Linked DNA regions of Homo sapiens: all the other regions are linked to region 3. The links are contacts of gene promoters, found by promoter capture Hi-C in human tissues and cell types (Jung and others, 2019). All regions are on one chromosome and are shown on one strand. Each heading gives the region's core, a stretch centred on a gene start or on the middle of the fragment in contact. The rest is flanking DNA. Distances are from core to core; before and after follow the strand shown.

Region 1 (3,690 bases), core at 496-2,995, 58 kb after region 3:
AGCTCCCTCCAGTTTTGAGCAGTTTAAAGTGGCAATGAACTACCTACAGCTATACAATGTTCCTGACTGTTTAGAAGACATCCAGGATGCAGATTGTTCTAGTTCAAAATGTTCCTCTTCTGCTTCCAGCAAACAGAACAGCAAAATGATATTTGGGGTAAGAATGTATGAAGATACTGTGGCTCGAAATGGCAATGAAGCCAACAGGTGGTGTGCAGAGCCAAGTTCAACGGTAAATACACCACATAATAGAGAGGCTGATGAAGAGTCTTTACAATTAGGTAATTTTCCTGAGCCACTATTTGATGTATGTAAAAAAAGTTCCGTGTCCAAATTATCTACTCCAAAAGAACGTGTGTCAAGACGCTTTGGGCGGAGTTTTACCTGTGATAGCTGTGGATTTGGCTTTAGCTGTGAAAAATTATTAGATGAGCATGTGCTAACCTGTACTAACAGACATTTATACCAAAACACAAGATCTTACCATAGAATAGTAGATATTAGAGATGGAAAAGACAGTAACATCAAAGCTGAATTTGGTGAAAAAGATTCTTCCAAAACATTTTCTGCACAGACGGACAAATACAGAGGAGACACAAGCCAGGCTGCTGATGATTCAGCTTCAACCACTGGAAGCAGAAAAAGTAGCACAGTGGAGTCTGAAATAGCAAGCGAAGAGAAAAGCAGAGCTGCTGAGAGGAAAAGGATTATTATTAAGATGGAGCCAGAAGATATTCCTACAGATGAACTGAAAGACTTTAACATTATTAAAGTTACTGATAAAGACTGTAATGAATCCACTGACAATGATGAATTAGAAGATGAACCTGAAGAGCCATTTTATAGATACTATGTTGAAGAAGATGTCAGCATAAAAAAAAGTGGTAGGAAAACTCTAAAACCTCGAATGTCAGTAAGTGCTGATGAAAGAGGTGGTTTAGAGAATATGAGGCCCCCTAACAACAGCAGTCCAGTACAAGAGGATGCTGAAAATGCATCTTGTGAGCTGTGTGGACTTACAATAACCGAGGAGGACCTGTCATCTCATTACTTAGCCAAACACATTGAAAATATCTGTGCATGTGGTAAATGTGGACAAATACTTGTAAAGGGTAGGCAGCTTCAGGAACATGCTCAACGATGTGGCGAGCCCCAAGATCTGACCATGAATGGGTTAGGAAATACTGAGGAGAAAATGGACTTGGAAGAGAATCCTGATGAGCAGTCCGAAATAAGAGATATGTTTGTTGAAATGCTGGATGATTTTAGGGACAATCATTACCAGATAAACAGTATCCAAAAAAAGCAGTTATTTAAACATTCTGCCTGCCCTTTTCGATGTCCTAATTGTGGCCAGCGTTTTGAAACTGAAAATCTAGTGGTTGAACATATGTCTAGCTGCTTAGATCAAGATATGTTTAAGAGTGCCATCATGGAAGAAAATGAAAGAGATCACAGACGAAAGCATTTTTGTAATCTGTGTGGAAAAGGATTTTATCAGCGGTGTCACTTAAGAGAACACTATACTGTTCATACTAAGGAAAAACAGTTTGTTTGTCAAACATGTGGAAAGCAGTTTTTAAGAGAGCGTCAGTTGCGACTGCACAATGATATGCACAAAGGCATGGCCAGGTATGTCTGTTCCATTTGTGATCAAGGAAACTTCAGAAAACATGACCATGTACGGCATATGATTTCTCATTTATCTGCTGGTGAGACTATATGCCAGGTCTGCTTTCAGATATTCCCAAATAATGAACAGTTGGAGCAGCACATGGATGTTCATCTGTATACATGTGGAATATGTGGAGCAAAATTTAATTTGAGGAAAGATATGAGATCACATTATAATGCCAAGCATTTGAAAAGAACCTGAGTGATTTTCTACTGTACTAATGTTTAGATGATAGCAGATAAAACACCAAAGCAAAGGATATGAGCTATTTAGGAATTGATTATATAAGATGATTTGTTAGAAACAAATTTCAAGGCCCTTTTAACTTTAATATTTTTGTTTAGGATTTTAAGTATCTACATTTAGGTATTAAATGTTTATCATTTTTGTTGTTTCTTAATAGAATTATTTGTTTTTAGTTTTTCTTAGCTATGATTAAAATTTTTAAATGTAGACTACAAGTGGTTGTTACCCATTCAATGACTATTAAACTTTAGTTTTTCATCAATAAGGTGATGACTTCACTATTTCTATGTGTTTTTTTTTTTTTAAGGTTATCCTGTGAAATTTTAAACCCAGAATCATTGGCCATTTCTGTTTAAATTTTAAAAATTCCTTAAGTAATTATTTGAAACTATCCCGTTTGCTTTTAGTGAGTTAACTACTCTTTATTCCCCCTTATTAATGAAATTCATATTCTTAAATTGACAAGCTTATTAGGCAAGTTAGGTGCACTGAATCTAACCTTTAAGGTTGACATGGGCTCAAACTTGGCCTAAAAAGATTGATGAACCTGAGGAAATTTTTATAAATGAATATTTCCTATAATTGATAAAATATTATCATTTAATTATCACATTTAAAACTTATATTAAGTGTAAATTCCAGTGGCTTTACCTCACTTGAAAAATTAGTGGGGATAAGCCATTTTGTTTTGTGATATTAAATTTAACTATGATAGTTAATTAAAAAGACATATCTTGTATTCATTAAAAATATTTTAATTTAAAATATTCTGATTTCTAAAGTGTGTTAGCTTATCAATTATTTTTGTTTATAAATAGACTTTAATAGCTCTCTAAGAATATGACCTCTAAAGGAAAAGATGATTTTTTACAATACATACTTCTGGAACTTTGAGATTTGAGAAAGCTTCCATGTATATTGATAAATCTAATAAAATAAAGAGATCAATTATAAACCTGGTTGTTCTATAAAAGTAGAGTGCACAAAAAAATGTCTTGTGTTTTATACTGTCTAAGATTTGGAGGAAATGTGGCAAATTGCAGTTTATCGCCATATTTTATTATCATTTTTTTCTGTAAAAGACTATAAAACTTGAGGATTATAAAATAATCACAGAGTATATCAATGGAAACAGTTTATCATTTTTTCAGTTAAAGTAGTAGTATTGTTAGTTGTTGCTGACACAGGGTCTACATAATTACATGTGAATTAAAACATTGGCAAAACTGACCCACCAATAAACACATCTATTGAATAGAATGCCTTTTAATGTGAATTACTTGCAATGTAGTACCCTTTTCATAATGAAAGGGATTTTAATTAACTCCTAATTTTAAAAATATAAATTTGTGATTCTGAACACTAATAGCATTGCTCTTTTTGTTCACATCATATTTAAAATATGCAAATCATATTTTGTATACAATTTACATAAAAGAACAAGTTGCCAAAAGAACTGAGAGACATACTGGTGAGTACAGATTTAGTTGAAAGCATTAGAGCACCATGTGAGCTCAGATTTGTGGGGATATGTTGAAGTGTTAAGTAAGGATAGGAACAGCACAGGAACCAAGTGCAGAATTCAAATAACGGGAAGTAGGCAGGGGACGGGTAGAATACACACAAAAATTAAAAATTTAACAGCAAAAGCAGGAAAAGTGATTCATCTTACCCTTACTTAGATACAATAGTTTATCAAGTAATTAAATTTGAAATCCAACTTAAAATGAAATGTGGTATGTATATTACTGATAGGAACCAGATAAAAG
Region 2 (3,829 bases), core at 407-2,906, 33 kb after region 3:
TTTAAACCCAGGGCCCTTTCTTCAAAACCCCATCTAGAACTTTCAACATTTACACTGTTGGCAGATTTTGCAAATATGTTGAATCAAATAAGGGAGTAAACTTTTCAAGTGTATAAAATGAAACAAATTAAAATCTATTAAAAAAAAAACACCAAGTACACATGAGGTGCATTCAAACTTGTTTTGCATAATAGGAGATCTTTGATGTTGTAATATACCAGATTTTACTTCAAATCAATAGCCCCATTCCATTGAGTTATTAGAACATTTTCTAATACAACCTACTCTGCAAATTATTAGCTAGACTTTTTGTATAGCCTTTGCTCATCATTCTTTGACTGTCTATTTTATTTTCTCTAGTATGTGAAATAGCTAAAGTTTCCCATGAATACAGAAAGAGCTTAGAAGTTACATTTGAGAATTTCTGGTGAGAATTTTAAGATGTGAGAGAAATTATGGAAAAATAAAGTATTTTATTATACTTATAAATACCAGAATCAAAATATGAGTGCTACATTTTTAAAAGTTTTATCTGTTATCAAAGTGATACATTATCATAATAGTTTTAGCATTGATATTTAAGAGATTACAAAAACCTTCTTTACCTTCTAGATTGTAGTAACTCTGGATTACTTCAAATTAAGATGGAACAACTTTATACTAGTATCTATGTTTGTTTAAAGCTGGCTTGATATTCAATACATATCTTTGATTCTTATGTATTTAGAAAAATCTACTGTACTAGACTGGACTCTCAGATCTATGGTAGCCAGCCGGATATCCTGGACTACACAGCTCTTCATTCTCTCAGGCTGTAAGAATCCTTAATAAAAAAGGAACAAAAAGAGCAAGACGACTGTTTCTGTAGGAAAACAGTCTTAGGTATTTTCTCTGTCAATGCTTACCACTGAGACTTTATGATGAATTTTCATTCAGACAAGGAGACAGGAAAGTTGGCAGAGGAATATGTACATCTTTTTTGAGCTACTTACTCATGGCTATAAATACAAAGGCAAAAGCAAAATATTTCAAGTGCCATATGATAAAAGACTTTATATAGCGACTAACTTTTTAATGGAACTTTCACATGACTGTAGAGGTGTGACATTTAATTATGTAGAGAATGAAACAATGTTTGTAGAAATCATTTTATCCTGAAACAGAGGTTCTTATTGCTGACTATACTGTAAAACCTTCTATGCAGAGCTGTATTGATGTCTGAGTCCCAACCCAGGCTTAGCCCAAACAGAATTGAATTGCTAGGGGTGAGGCACAGATTCTTTTTTTTTTTTTTTTGAGACAGAGTCTCGCTCTGTCGCCCAGGCTGCAGGCTGGAGTGCAATGGCGCGATCTCGGCTCAATGCAACCTCCGCCTCCTGGGTTCAAGTGCTTCTCCCGGACTCAGCCTCCTGAGTAGCTGGGATTACAGGTGCCCATCACGCCTGGCTAATTTTTATATTTTTAGTAGAGATGGGGTTTCGCCACGTTGGCCAGGCTGGTCTTGAACTCCTGACCTCAGGCGATCCGCCTGCCTTGGCCTCCCAAAGTGCTGGGATTACAGGCGTAGGCCACTGTTCCCGGCCAGATTGTTTATTTGTTTATTTATTTTTATTTTTATTTTTTTGAGACAGAGTCTCACTCTGTTGCCCAGGCTGGAGTGCAGTGGCACGATCTCGGCTCACTGCAAGCTCCGCCTCCCGGGTTCGCGCCATTCTCCTGCCTCAGCCTCCCGAGTAGCTGGGACTACAGGCGCCCACCACCACACCCAGCTAATTTTTTTGTATTTTTAGTCGAGACGGGGTTTCACTGTGTTAGCCAGGATGGTCTCGATTTCCTGACCTCATGATCCACCCGCCTCGGCCTCCCAAAGTGCTGTGATTACAGGCGTGAGCCACCGCGCCCAGCCCAGATTCTTTTTTTAAAAAGCTTCCCAGGTGATTCTAACGTGACTGCTCAGTTAAGAACCACTGCCTCAGAAGAACACGGGACCAAGGAAACCCAAGAAATTATTTCACACTCTACAATTACATTGATATTTAAGAGACAATAAAAACTTTCTTTACTTTCTAGATTGTATAACTCTGGATTAGTTCAAACTAAGTAAGATAGAACAACTTTATACTAGTCTCTATAAATAAACAATTCCGTAAGAGTGTTCAAAGTATGGAAATTATGTTGACTACATTAAATGAACAAATATAAACAACTGTAATTCTAATTGTAACCTTAAAATATTGGCCAGATTAAGAAACAAAAGTGCTCCATGGCCAGGCATGGTGGCTCGCTCCCAGCACTTTGGGAGGCCGAGGCAGGTGGATTACCTGAGGTCGGGAGTTCGAGACCAGCCTGACCAACATGAAGAAACCCCGTCTCTACTAAAAATACAAAATTAGCCAGGTGTGGTGGCACATACCTATAATCCCGGCTACTCGGGAGGCTGAGGCGGGAGAATCGCTTGAACCCAGGAGGCAGAGGTTGTGGTGAGCTGAGATTGTGTCATTGCACTCCAGTCTGGGCAACAAGAGTGAAACTCCATCTCAAAAAAAAAAAGAAAAAGAAAAAAAAGAATCAAAAGTGCTCCTAAACTGGCAGGATGGGCATGGGTGGGGGGGTGGAGGAACACACTATTTTCAGACTTCTTTTCAAATAGTATTTAGGAAAAAGAAATATTTACTCTCTTACTCCATTACACCTAGATTGGATTTCATAACACCTAAAAATGATACAGAAATTCTAAATCTGAAAATACTGTTTGAGGTAAAATCTGCTGTAATTCCAGACATCTGCTTATTAAGATCTACTGAGAATGTTAGCAAAGAGGGTATGGAGGGGGTAGATGAAACAGGAAGAGTAGTTATGCTCTAGAAACCTTTAATGGAACTGGGAAACGTTAGTTTGGGGCCTCCTGCCTGTTGGCAGACATAGCCAACCTCCAAGCACCTCTAATTCCCATCTAACCAACATTACATTGTAGGATGCCTGATAAAGCCAAGCACACAAGAATACTAACAACAGTAAGCACAAATTGTTAATAGACCTTTAAAAAAAATCAGAACCCGGAGAAAGAAAGGAAAAGATTCCTCTCAGTCCATTAAAGACAAACCAAATTTCTAAAAGAAAAAATAAGGTACTCAAAGGACAGGAGAAAGATGGAAAATTATAATGCTAGTACAGACCTAGAATACAGTACAGGCAAGAGTAACTAAAACTTCTGGATACAAGTAAACCAATACTTCTTTCGCAATGGAAGTATACTCCCATGAACACACTACTCAAGTGGGCTAATAAAAACCTTTGCTTAAAGTGCTTGGAGATTTCAGAAAAAATAAAACATCCATGCATGACTGATTTGTAACCAGAGAAGAAATGAATTAGAAAAATATAAAAAATAACTGAACACTCTAAGCACTTTTTCTCCCAATAAAGCAAAAAAAAAAAAAAAAAAAAAAGAGAGAGAGAGAGAAAGAAAATTCCTGCTAGCAAAGGGAAAGCAGAACGGTAAATAAATGCCTATAATCCCAGCACTTTAGGAGGCCGAGGAGGGTGGATCACCTGAGGTCAGAGTTCAAGACCAGCCTGGCCAATATGGTGAAACCGTCTCTACTAAAAATACAAAAATTAGTTGGGCGTGGTGGCAGACGTCTGTAATCCCAGCTACTTGGGAGGCTGAGGCAGAAGAATTGCCAATAAGGGGGAAAAACTCAAATGTCCATGGATAGTCAAATGGATAAAGAAAACATGGACCAGGCACAGTGGCTCACACCTATAATCCCAGCACTTTGGGAGGCCAAGGTGGGCGGATCACTTGAGGTCAGGAGTTCAAGACCCG
Region 3 (3,732 bases), core at 1,084-3,583:
GTCACTTACCTGAATTCAGGAATGACAGGTTTCTTTCATGCATGAGGTACTGGATACATTAAACACACACACACACACACACACACACACACACATATGGCATTGAGTTCTAGTCATATCCTAAAGAAAAACTATGGTGCGCTATGTTATTTATAGTACTATACTCTGTGTGAGTGACTCTGTGTGTATGTGTGTTGGTGGAGGTCAGGGATGACTTGTTTGTAATATACCTTAAGGAAGTCTGTCCGAATTTGCCCTTCAAATACTAAATAAATTCATCTCTCACCTCAAACTGCCTTTCAGTTCCCTTTTACTAATTTTGTTTAAAAGAAAGGCAAGTGAAGGCCAGGCATGGGGGCTCACACCTGTAATCCTAGCACTGTAGGAGGTCAAGGCAGGAGGATCACTTGAGCTCAGGAGTTCAAGACCAGCCTGGGCAACATAGGGAGACGCCATCTCTACAAAAAAAAAAAAAAGAAGAAGAACCTGGGCATGTGGTCGCATACCTGTGGTCCCAGCTGCATGGGAGGCTGAGGTGGGAGGATTGCTTGAGCCAGGGATTGTACCACTGCACTCCAGCCTGAGCAAGACCCTGTCTCAAATAAAAATAAAAATAAGACAGCTATTTTACCCTGTCTTCACCTAAATAAGCTCATCTTATTTTTTGCCTGAAACTCTTGCAAACTCCCAGGTCTGCTAGTTTTGAGAAACCTTGGATCTCAATAAGGAATAGTTCTCAATTGCTTATAAGCATAATGGATTTCTTTTGGCTTAAAGTTCAAAACTGGCAACAAGCAGCGCTAGCAACCCATAGAGAGATACGCAGACCATTTCGATAGACGTGTTTGCTGAGTGAACAAGGCTGACTGAATTTTTTTTTTTTTTTGAGGCAGGGTCTCACTTTGTTGCCCAGGCTGGCGTGCAGTGGTGCAGTAGTGGCTCACAGCAGCCTTGACCTTCTGGGCCCAAGTGATCCTCCCTTCTCAGCCTCCTGAGCTCCTGAGTAACTGGGACCATACGTGCACCACCATGCCCAGCTAATTTTTTAGATTTTTTTGTCTCCCTATGTTGCCCAGGCTGGTCTCAAACTCTTGGACTCAAGCCATCCTCCTGCCTTGGCCTCCCAAAGTGCTGGGATTACAGGTGTGAGCTACTGCGCCCATCCCTGAATTCTTAATTACAACTAAACTAGATGCTTATGGATTTTCCTGTTTTACAACTCTTGCCTCTTTTATCTGTAATTTTAAGATCTTGACAGCTTATATTTGGCTTTGCTTTTGTGTCTCAAGAGTTCTTTCCTTGATAAGCCTCTGTGGAAACTACAGAATCTTACAAATATAAAACATTTCCGGAAAAAATACAAAAATGGACACCTGACATTTACACTCCCTAAGGTCGTGATCCTGTTGAAGAAAGGAGATGAACGCGGCTGCTTTTCAGTAGTTCTTCACTTCACCTTACCAGGTTCTTCATCTGGATGCTATGCTATGGGGGCCAGAGGAGGAGGCTGGGATTGTGATGGATCCTACTAGATTTTACAGCTGGAGCTCCCAGGAATGCCCTCATAGGGAATGTCCTGAAGGGAATCATGGGTAACTTGTAAGCTACCTCAACTTATTTTTGGAACTATGTAAGGTATAAGATGGATGGAGCTGGGTTCCTGTGCCTTTCTCACCTTGTCCGCATAGAGATGCAGCTGCTCCTGCAGGCCAAAGTTCTGCACCAATCACCTCCACCTGCTTCCCACTGGGAGACAAAGGTTTGAAAGCCTGTTTGGCGATGAACCACGATGATCTGACACTCAAGCCACTCCTGAGAAAGTCGGGTTTCTTTCTGTTTCCATTTATATATGTAATTTTCGCTTCAAACAAACATGACCTCGCTATTCTATGCACAGTTTTGAATCCTGCTTTTAAAATGCGATGTCTGCCTTGTCTTTAAATATTCTGAGGGGGAGGAGAGGAGATGTGTAATGCGACTGTCTATAATTTGAAACCGGACCTCACTATTTAGCGTCTCAGAAAACGCGGGGTTCATTGCCCTGGTCCCCCCCGCCTTCCCCCGCCCCCCGAACCTTCCGGCTGGCTCTCTTGCGGTCCCCGCCTCGGCGCTGATGTGGTCTGGCAGTGGAGATTGGCGCCCGGGCGGAGCACGATGGGCTTCCCCGCGGCAGGCAGGCAGGCTGCTGCTGCAGGTGGGTCCCGGCGCCCGCGCCGCCCCGCGCCTCCGGCGGTCGCCCCGCCCCTGCCCGCCCGCTCCGCTCCGCTCGCATTGGCGCTGCCTGCTGTCTGTCCCCGCGCGGTGGGGAGGGGGCGCACCCGGCGGCGGGCTCTGCAGAGGGCGCCTTGCTCCGGGTGCGACCGCGGCTCCCTGGAGGCCTGGGCGGCGGGCCCCGCGAGCGCGCCGCCACCTCGGGAGCAGTGTTGGCCAAGGACCCCGACGCCCTACGTAAGTAAAGGCAGGGCGGGGAGCCTGCGGGGGAGGAGGGTCGGGGGCAATGTCCGGTCCGCGGACCGCGGAGTGGGCAAGAGGTGCCCACTGGATACGGGGTATCCGAGCCCTCTGAGGTGCTGGGAGTAAGAACGCGGGAGGTCGCTTGTCCGCTGGAATCCGCGGCCAGGGCGACCCTCATCAGGTCTGCCCACCTATCCCCTTCGCGTTACAGCTTGTCTTAGAAGCATGGGTTGCCGGTGGCTTTTTTCCTTCTTTATCCCTCTTTGAGAAATGTGATTTTGGGTTTCTGGCCATTACATTATAATTCTGCAGACAGCCTGAAGCTGGGTTATCTGTTCCACGCCCCCGGCATTTTCCTTTTTGAGTACTTTATCCTGCGCTCTGTCTCCTGCCATAAGGGGCGTCAAGCCAGAATTCGAGATTCCTTCCTCCAGGAGGAAGCTTCGTGGTCCGTATCTGGTGCTGGGAAAGATGCATTGCTTTCCTCGGGTACTGGCTGCTCAAGGGAAAAAGGAAAGGGGGTGTTTTCTGTGACATGAGACTTGCAATTCCATCAGGAAATGAGCACAGGGACTTTAAGATTTCCTGAGGCGATAAAGCTACCCTTGCTGGTTAAGAGCGAATCATTTGCAGTCTGACATTCTGCAAAGTTTTATTGTCTACAGACTGCATTATTTTCCCTCGTTAGTTAAGTTTCTGTTTGGGTATTCGTTTTATTTCTAGTATGTGAGATACATTCAAGTGAGCTTCTCAAACGATTGTCTTTGCGCAATCCAGGTTAGTTTCCAATGACAGACTCCTAAACATCTCATTTCAATATTTCTATTATGTGGTAATACAGCCTCTGCTTAACAAAAATGCTCAGGTGCTGAAAACTCACAAGAGGTGAGAAGATTTAAACAGTTATCAGCTTAGGTTCTAGTGCTCACTGAAACATTGTGAGGAGAAACACTGTCAAATGTTCATATTTTAGTTCCGTCATTGTTCTAGAATGACTTTATCTTTCTGTTAGAGGCACACAGTATGAAACACCCAACCTAAGATAATATTTACTTAGATCATAAACTGATTTTCAGGGTTCCAGTTCCTTCTACAGTTCATAAAATTATGGGTTACCCAAATGAAACTTCAGTGAAGGATTTACATAAAAACAATATAAAGAATGAGTCCCTTTGCTTATTTTAGGGCATCCACCCACTAAAATTCATAGGATCTTTGTTGGATAATCACCTCCCATTTCCATTCTTTGGTGCCATCATACCATTCTAAGGATTAAAT

Evidence for each region. The method cuts DNA at HindIII sites, captures the fragments that hold promoters and counts their contacts. A contact is called where the count stands out against the background at its distance.
Region 1: a fragment that was not itself captured here is called in contact with the fragment with the promoter of AKAP5 in region 3 in 1 of the 25 tissues and cell types used here (hippocampus).
Region 2: a fragment that was not itself captured here is called in contact with the fragment with the promoter of AKAP5 in region 3 in 8 of the 25 tissues and cell types used here (H1 embryonic stem cells, aorta, hippocampus and 5 more).

The regions. Positions count from the first base shown.
Region 1 is chr14:64,521,771-64,525,460 of GRCh38, forward strand. It overlaps ZBTB1 (zinc finger and BTB domain containing 1), which reads left to right. Exons shown (of 2, transcript NM_001123329.2): 2 at 1-3,181. The coding sequence ends at 1,876. All of the region lies in intron 2 of HSPA2-AS1 (HSPA2 and ZBTB1 antisense RNA 1), which reads right to left. Among named protein-coding and RNA genes, the nearest start is that of HSPA2-AS1, 17 kb to the right of the region's middle. The HindIII fragment of the contact is 4,162 bases long and covers 1-3,690 here.
Region 2 is chr14:64,497,028-64,500,856 of GRCh38, forward strand. The region is part of intron 1 of ZBTB25 (zinc finger and BTB domain containing 25); the gene reads right to left. Among named protein-coding and RNA genes, the nearest start is that of ZBTB25, 4.9 kb to the right of the region's middle. The HindIII fragment of the contact is 7,112 bases long and covers 1-3,829 here.
Region 3 is chr14:64,463,166-64,466,897 of GRCh38, forward strand. AKAP5 (A-kinase anchoring protein 5) reads left to right here and starts at 2,334. Exons shown (of 2, transcript NM_004857.3): 1 at 2,334-2,448. It also overlaps a transcript of ZBTB25 not described here. RefSeq lists silencers at 2,129-2,528, 2,539-2,608. The HindIII fragment of the contact is 11,787 bases long and covers 1-3,370 here.